Regions from separate parts of the Homo sapiens genome. Here region 1 is linked to region 2. Evidence: promoter capture Hi-C in 16 types of primary human blood cells and fetal thymus (Javierre and others, 2016). All regions are on one chromosome and are shown on one strand. The core of a region is centred on a gene start or on the middle of the fragment in contact, and the rest is flanking DNA. Distances in the headings are between cores, read along the strand shown. Region 1 overlaps EPHB3 (EPH receptor B3). Region 2 holds the start of MAGEF1 (MAGE family member F1).

The links. Contacts are between HindIII fragments. The CHiCAGO score rates a contact against its expected background, and 5 or more counts as called.
Region 1: a fragment that was not itself captured here is called in contact with the fragment with the promoter of MAGEF1 in region 2 in 3 of 17 cell types (M0 macrophages, non-activated CD4 T cells and monocytes); the score reaches 6.2 in M0 macrophages.

What each region holds. Positions count from the first base shown.
Region 1 is chr3:184,567,398-184,570,825 of GRCh38, reverse strand. The region is part of intron 1 of EPHB3 (EPH receptor B3); the gene reads right to left. Among named protein-coding and RNA genes, the nearest start is that of EPHB3, 7.3 kb to the right of the region's middle. RefSeq lists enhancers at 1-657, 658-1,604, 1,947-2,459, 2,460-2,974. The HindIII fragment of the contact is 9,394 bases long and covers 1-3,428 here.
Region 2 is chr3:184,710,574-184,714,201 of GRCh38, reverse strand. MAGEF1 (MAGE family member F1) reads left to right here and starts at 2,138. Exons shown (of 1, transcript NM_022149.5): 1 at 2,138-3,628. The coding sequence starts at 2,381. The coding sequence ends at 3,304. LOC107986163 (a long non-coding RNA gene) reads right to left here and starts at 1,959. Exons shown (of 5, transcript NR_160768.1): 1 at 1,784-1,959. RefSeq lists an enhancer at 2,879-2,938. The HindIII fragment of the contact is 12,590 bases long and covers 1-3,628 here.

The sequences.
Region 1 (3,428 bases), core at 802-3,301, 140 kb after region 2:
TGTCAGGTCGGGCAGGCTAGGGGTGAGTGCCCTGACCCCAGGCCTGGGTTAATGAGGCAGGAGCAGAGGCTGGTCCACACACCTACAGGCTCTGCTAATCTCCACACAAAGGGGCCGGCAGGGCCTTTATCCTGGAACAAAGGGCTGTGTGCTCCAGACCCTGGCCCTGGCCTCCCCTGACTCCGTTCCCAGCACAAAGGCCCAGCCCCACACAAGGCCCAGGGGAAGGGGAGGGCAGTGACAGGCCAGAGCCAGCTCCCACGCAGCACCTACAGGTGATGGGGCAGGGATGCGCTTTGAGGGTGGAGAGGGGACCACCAAAGCCCCAAACCAGCTCTTAGTTCAATTCTTCCTGCAATCCTTGGAAGAAGGTACTGTTGGTGTATCCCTTTTACAGAAGAGAACACTGATGCCCAGACAAAGAAAATACACTGCCTAAGGTGAAGTTGCTAGGACTTGGGGTGAGGGGACAAGGGTGGATCAGGTTCAGGTGTATCTGACTCTATAATTAATCCCTTGCACTCTGACTGCAATATGCCCCTCTGTAAAGGAGGGATGAAAGAAAGCCTAGAAAACTGCCTATCATTTAAGTCCCAACAGAGCTGTTGCCTCCTCCAGGAAGCCTTCCGTGAACCTCCAAGTCAGGGTAAGATGCCCTCCTTTGTGCATCTAGGGCCAGGGGCTTTGTCACAGTACCCGGCCTGTGTTCTGAGCTGGTTTCTTGTCTGTTTCACCTTGTTTGGTCATAGGAGGGGCCCGTTAATGTTTCTGACATACACTTGCTCCCTTAGGAACCTGGTTCTGCGCTCTGGCTGGATGTCCCTACTCTCTGAAAGACAGTGTGACCCCCAGATTAGACCTGGGTCAGGAAAGGAAGGAAAGAGGTGCCAACTCCTTTCCCGTGGCCTGGAAGACAGTGCAGCCAGCTCTGAAGCTGGAATGGGGCAGGGTTGCCCCAGGACCTCTGGAGGCCTCTACATCATCCCCTCTGGGTGCCCAAGTGGGGAAAAGCCCAAACCCCGCGGCCACAGGCTTGCAGCCTTCAGTGGTTTCCCGGAGGCTGGGTCTGAGCCGAGGACGGCGGAGGACCCCGTGGGTGGACAAGGCAGCTGTGACCCCAGCCCCCCGCCATGTCAGGCAAAGGGGCTGCAGGCAGCAGCCATTCACTGCAGGGAGGGAGGCTCCTCCCGCTGCCGCAGCCCCTGGTCCCCTGAGGGCCCGGCTGTAAGGGGAGCGATCCTGGCCTCTGGCAGACAGACAGACAGACAGACAGACACAGACATTCGGCCTGGGGGGTACTCGAGGGAAGCCGAGATGCTCAGAAGCCGGGGCCCACAGAGACAGGCGGGGAGGGAGGCGGGCGGGGCAGCGACTGGAGCTGGCGGGCGGTGGGCGGCACGGAGCCGGAGGGATGTGCGGAGCCGGCTGGCGGGGATCCGACAGCCGGGATGGCCGGCGGCTGACTACAAAGACAGGGAGACCGAGAGACGCGGAGGCCCGAGGAGACAGGGACAGAGGGAGGTTGCCAGGCGGCCTCGTCCCCAGCCGGCAGCGCGAGTGTCAGTCCCGGGAGCCGGCAGAGCAAGCGCGCCCTGCCCCCGCAGCCAGTCCTCCCGCCGGTCCGCCCGCCGGTCCGCCCGCCGGAGCAGGCCGGGGCTCCAGCCGCTCCCTCGCGCCGCCTCCCTCCTCCCTCTCCCTCACTTCCTTCTGCTCAGCCTGTGCCAAACCCATCTGGAACTGTTTAAACCCAAATATTCAGCCCCCTCCCCCTCCAGCCAGATTCCTCCACAGTTTAAAACAAGCCCTGCGCTGGCTCCGGGAGGAGGGAGCGGAGGGAGGGGACGGCGGAGAGGCGGCGGCGGGAAGGAGGGAGGGAGCGAGGGAGGCAGGGAGGCTCTTCATTTCTGTTTAATTTCTGGGGAGCGAGAGAGGGAGGGAGGGAGGGGATCGGCCCTTGGCCATCGCTCAGCCTTGGCCATCGCTCAATCTCGCCACATTTTTCCCATTAATGAAGAGAGGACTTGGGTTTCGAGTCATGTGTGCCCGAGGAAGGGCTCGGTCACTCCGGTGGGGAGGGGGCCGCGTGCTCTCGGTTTCCCCGTTTCTCAGGGGGAGAGGAGGAGCCTGCTCCCTTCAGCCTGCCCAGGCACAGAGGACGGGGCAAGGCCCTCCTCAGCCCTGGGGTGCCTGGTCCCTGCCTTCGGCAGGAGGTGAGGGGGATGTGGGGGGGGGGTCATAGAACCCATCTGTCCGTGGTATTGGGAGAAAGAGACCCAGCCCACCTTTTCTGTGCTGTGTGTGCGGCGTGTGCATGTGTGTGCACGTGTGTGTACGTGTGTTGTACATACACACGTTGGGACGGGGGTATGAGGGGCAGCGGGTAAAGACAAAAGAGGAGTGAGTGAGCAAGTTCTCAACTCCCCCAGCTGCCTGCTGCACCCCATCCCTCGCCGTCCTGCCATGTATCTGCAGGAGGCAGAGGGGAGAAGAGGCTGGCCACCCTAGACACTGGGCTGTGTCAGGCAGGAAACCACAACTGCCCAGCAAAGTCACCAGGGAGGTAGTCACCAGGCCTGGGGTCTTTCGGGGACTGGAGCTTTGATGCTCAGGAGCTAAGCAATACCTCTTTCAGGTTTCCACAGGGCCATGGAGAGCAGCCACGTGGCAGCAGCTGTGTGGCCCTCACCCATGCACAAACACACAGATGCACGCGCAGCATCCAGTCCTGGGGGCTGGGCTCACTCCCCGCCACTGGGGCTAAAGAGTGACAAGTCAACACATATGGTGGACAAAAACACACAAAGCCACAGCCGCCCACAAACACACACCCAGCTTCACACAGAGCCATGGTCTGTCTTTCTCAGACACACGGATGCATATGGTACAAACAGATTAGTCTTCCTTAGACATTCATATACAGTGAATCTTTCCTACACAGAGATCTGGCTTGCCTTAGGCGGACCCACGCTTCCAGCCTACCTATGTGCAGATTTCCTGAAACATATGCGCACACAGAGGGCACTCACCCCCAACCCTGCAGTATGTTCTCCTTACACACCCAATTGCACATGCTATCACCAGCTGCAAGTCACACAGTCTTCGGTGTAAAGTGCAAACACAAACACCAGTTTCCCTGTATAGACTTGGCGACATGCTTTTAGTCACACAAACTACAATCAGCTGCAAAGTCACAGATGTCCAATGACACTGAAATATGCCACAGCCCCTGCAAAGGAGCACCCTGACATGGTGTAAGTATCAATACCTAGATTTGTGTAAAGCCTCAGAGGTGCATCCTCCATGCACCCGCAACACACACACACACACACACACACACACACACACCCTGCAAGCATGGTTCTGTTTATGGGATGTCTTCCAGTGGGGTAGAGGAAGAGTTACTGGGAGAGGGTGGTACCCCTCATCCT
Region 2 (3,628 bases), core at 889-3,388:
AAGTCATATGATACAAGTGGGTATAAATTTTCAAAAGTTTTTAAAAGGAAGATTTCATATTTAGATTTAGAAAAGTCTATCAGATATTTACTTAAAATAAGTAACTGTTATTTCCTAGGGAAAAAAGTAAAGCCTTCTGTCATTTATTCATTGGCAATTATATATCGAGTATTGACTAAGAGAAGCTCTTCAAAAGAGTTAAAAACATAGCCCTAGCTTTTAGGATGTTTGGTTTGGGGAGGGTAATAAGATAAGCACAACAAATTATAATACAAAATATAGTAAATGATAATAATAATAATTAACATCTATGAATGTAGTGGTTAAGAGCACAGTCTCTGGAGTCATACTATATGGGTTCACATCCCAGCTGTGTGATGTTGGGCAAGTTACTTAACCTCCTTGTGTGTAACCTCACCTGGAAAATGGGGCTAATACCACTTACCTAGCAGGGCTACAGTATCAGAAAAAAGTGGCCCAGGGTGTTTGAGCATCCTGTACAAGGTCACAGAATGGGTGAGTACTGACCCGGTTCAGTGCTATGTCCCAGGACACCTCCTCCGCATCTCCACAGAGTGCTAGGCATTCCAGGACAGTTCATCTTGCAATTCTAATATTGTATATTGCATATAAAAATATGCATTAATTAACAGCTAACATGTATTGAATATCAATATGTGCCAAGCACTGTGTTAAATGCTTATGTGCATTACTTCACATAATCTCCACAATGCTGTTACTACTATTATACTCATTTTACTGATAAGGTAACAGAAGGGCAGAAGTTTAGGTAACTTGCCCAAGATTACATAGCTAGTAAGTAGCAAACTGTGTCACAGAAAAGATACAATCATCTATAAAATGGGGATGATGGTATTAGTACCTACATTAGTGAGAATCTGATGAATTAATATTTGAAAAGTGATTAGAACGGAGCCTGGCACCTAATAAAGCCTATATATGTGGATGTTAACAATTGCTAAGGTGATTCAGAGATGACAGTAAATAACTTCTATGCGTGGTGACTAAGGAAGGCTTGGGAAGGTGATGTTTAAACTGGGCCCTGAATAGTGGACAGGATTTGGAGAAATGGAGGTGATAGAGAGGGCATTTCTGACAGGGAAGGAAGGGAGGGAGGGAGGGAAGAAGGAAGGAAGGAAGGAAGGAAAGAAGGAAGGAAGGAAGGAAGGAAAGAAGGAAGGAAGGAAGGCAGGAAGGGAAGGAGGGAAGGGAGGGAGGAAGGAAGGAAGGAGGGAAGGAAAGAAGGAAGGAAGGAGCAAGAAGCAGAAGAAAGCTCAGAGTGTGTAAAAAGAGAAAAAGAAAAGAAATACATGGGAGTAGTCAAATTTGACTTGCGCAAAAAAAAAAAAAAAAAAGAACAAACTTCCCCTTTCTTCCAACCAGTCCCTATTCCTGCTGTACTTCTCAGTATTTTCCTCTTATCCCCATGGAATCTGCTGTCCTTACTCCCTCATCATAATGATCCATTGAATATTTATTGAGTTCCTCTCCGTGTCAGGCACTGCTCTAGGCACCGAGGATACAACCCAGTAAATAGGCCGGGTCCCAGTTCCTAGTTTGCACTATAATAATCCTCCAAACTGGATTCTAGCTTTTAGCCGGCCGAACTCCAATCTATCTTCCACAATACCGCCAGAACCGAAGACACAGATCTGGTCTGGACACTCACTTGCTTAAATCCCGCTGCAGTATTTTCTCTTTACGTCCAGAATAAATTTCAGTCTCCCTAGCATCCTTTACTAATTGGTTCGCACAGTCTTACCTCGCAGCCTTCACCGTGCACTCTGCACAAGAGCCCCGGTAAAGCACTGAAAATCCCAGATACACACACTCACAAATAGGCACTTGCAGAAAGAACGTGGGGGGCACTCCATCCCTATTTCATCTCTTGTACACCGAAACATTCCCCAGTCTGCATGCCTTGGATGGGAGAGTCCTGGTTACATTCCCCCGCCCCCGACTTTTCAAGCCTAAAATCCGTCACAGGGCGCACCCCCGTCCCCACCCTCCAGGGCATTTCCACTTATAGCAGCCTGGGCACACCCCCAACCCAGAAGGGACCGGAAAAGGAGGGGCTGCGCGCGGCACTAGGGTCGCCGTCCTGGCTGAGGTGGCCGGAAGTGGCCCCTCGCGCGGGCGCGGACTGAGGCTGCGCGCCGCAGGTTCCGGCTGCTGGCGGCGTTGCGGCCGCAGGTTTGACTCCCGTGCGGTGCGGCCCAGCAGCCACAAAGCTCCCGCTGCCATTGCTCCTTGTACTCCCGCCGTCACTGCCGCTGTCCAACCCCTCCCCCGGGGCTTGCGCGGCGGCTCCCACACCCCTCGGCCCGTGTACGCGCTCTGCACCTGCCTGCCCGAAAACATGTTGCAGACACCAGAGAGCAGGGGGCTCCCGGTCCCGCAGGCCGAGGGGGAGAAGGATGGCGGCCATGATGGTGAGACCCGGGCCCCGACCGCCTCGCAGGAGCGCCCCAAGGAGGAGCTTGGCGCCGGGAGGGAGGAGGGGGCTGCGGAGCCCGCCCTCACCCGGAAAGGCGCGAGGGCCTTGGCGGCCAAAGCCTTGGCAAGGCGCAGGGCCTACCGCCGGCTGAATCGGACGGTGGCGGAGTTGGTGCAGTTCCTCCTGGTGAAAGACAAGAAGAAGAGTCCCATCACACGCTCGGAGATGGTGAAATACGTTATTGGAGACTTGAAGATTCTGTTCCCGGACATCATCGCAAGGGCCGCAGAGCATCTGCGGTATGTCTTTGGTTTTGAGCTGAAACAGTTTGACCGCAAGCACCACACTTACATCCTGATCAACAAACTAAAACCTCTGGAGGAGGAGGAGGAGGAGGATCTGGGAGGAGATGGCCCCAGATTGGGTCTGTTAATGATGATCCTGGGCCTTATCTATATGAGAGGTAATAGCGCCAGGGAGGCCCAGGTCTGGGAGATGCTGCGTCGGTTGGGGGTGCAACCCTCAAAGTATCATTTCCTCTTTGGGTATCCGAAGAGGCTTATTATGGAAGATTTTGTGCAGCAGCGATATCTCAGTTACAGGCGGGTGCCTCACACCAATCCACCAGAATATGAATTCTCTTGGGGTCCCCGAAGCAACCTGGAAATCAGCAAGATGGAAGTCCTGGGGTTCGTGGCCAAACTGCATAAGAAGGAACCGCAGCACTGGCCAGTGCAGTACCGTGAGGCCCTAGCAGACGAGGCCGACAGGGCCAGAGCCAAGGCCAGAGCTGAAGCCAGTATGAGGGCCAGGGCCAGTGCTAGGGCCGGCATCCACCTCTGGTGAGGGTTGGTGAAAAGTTGGCCAGTGGGTCCCCGTGAGGACGAACTACTGTCCTGAGTCATAAGTAATATGGGTGGGGCGAGGGTCTTATTTCTGTAGAAATCGTGTGACTTTAAGGATTTAGATTTTGTATCTTATGTTTTGTAACATTTAATAATTACTGTTAAAATGCTGTTTGTAAATGAGATTGGTCTACTTTTTCCTGTAGGATTTTATTGTAGAGTTTTGCTGGTTTTGTAAAATGGATGGAAGAACTTTGTATTTATACTGTGATTTTGAACAGATTATGCAACATTGGAAGGAAGGCTGTACTTTGATGGTTTGAAG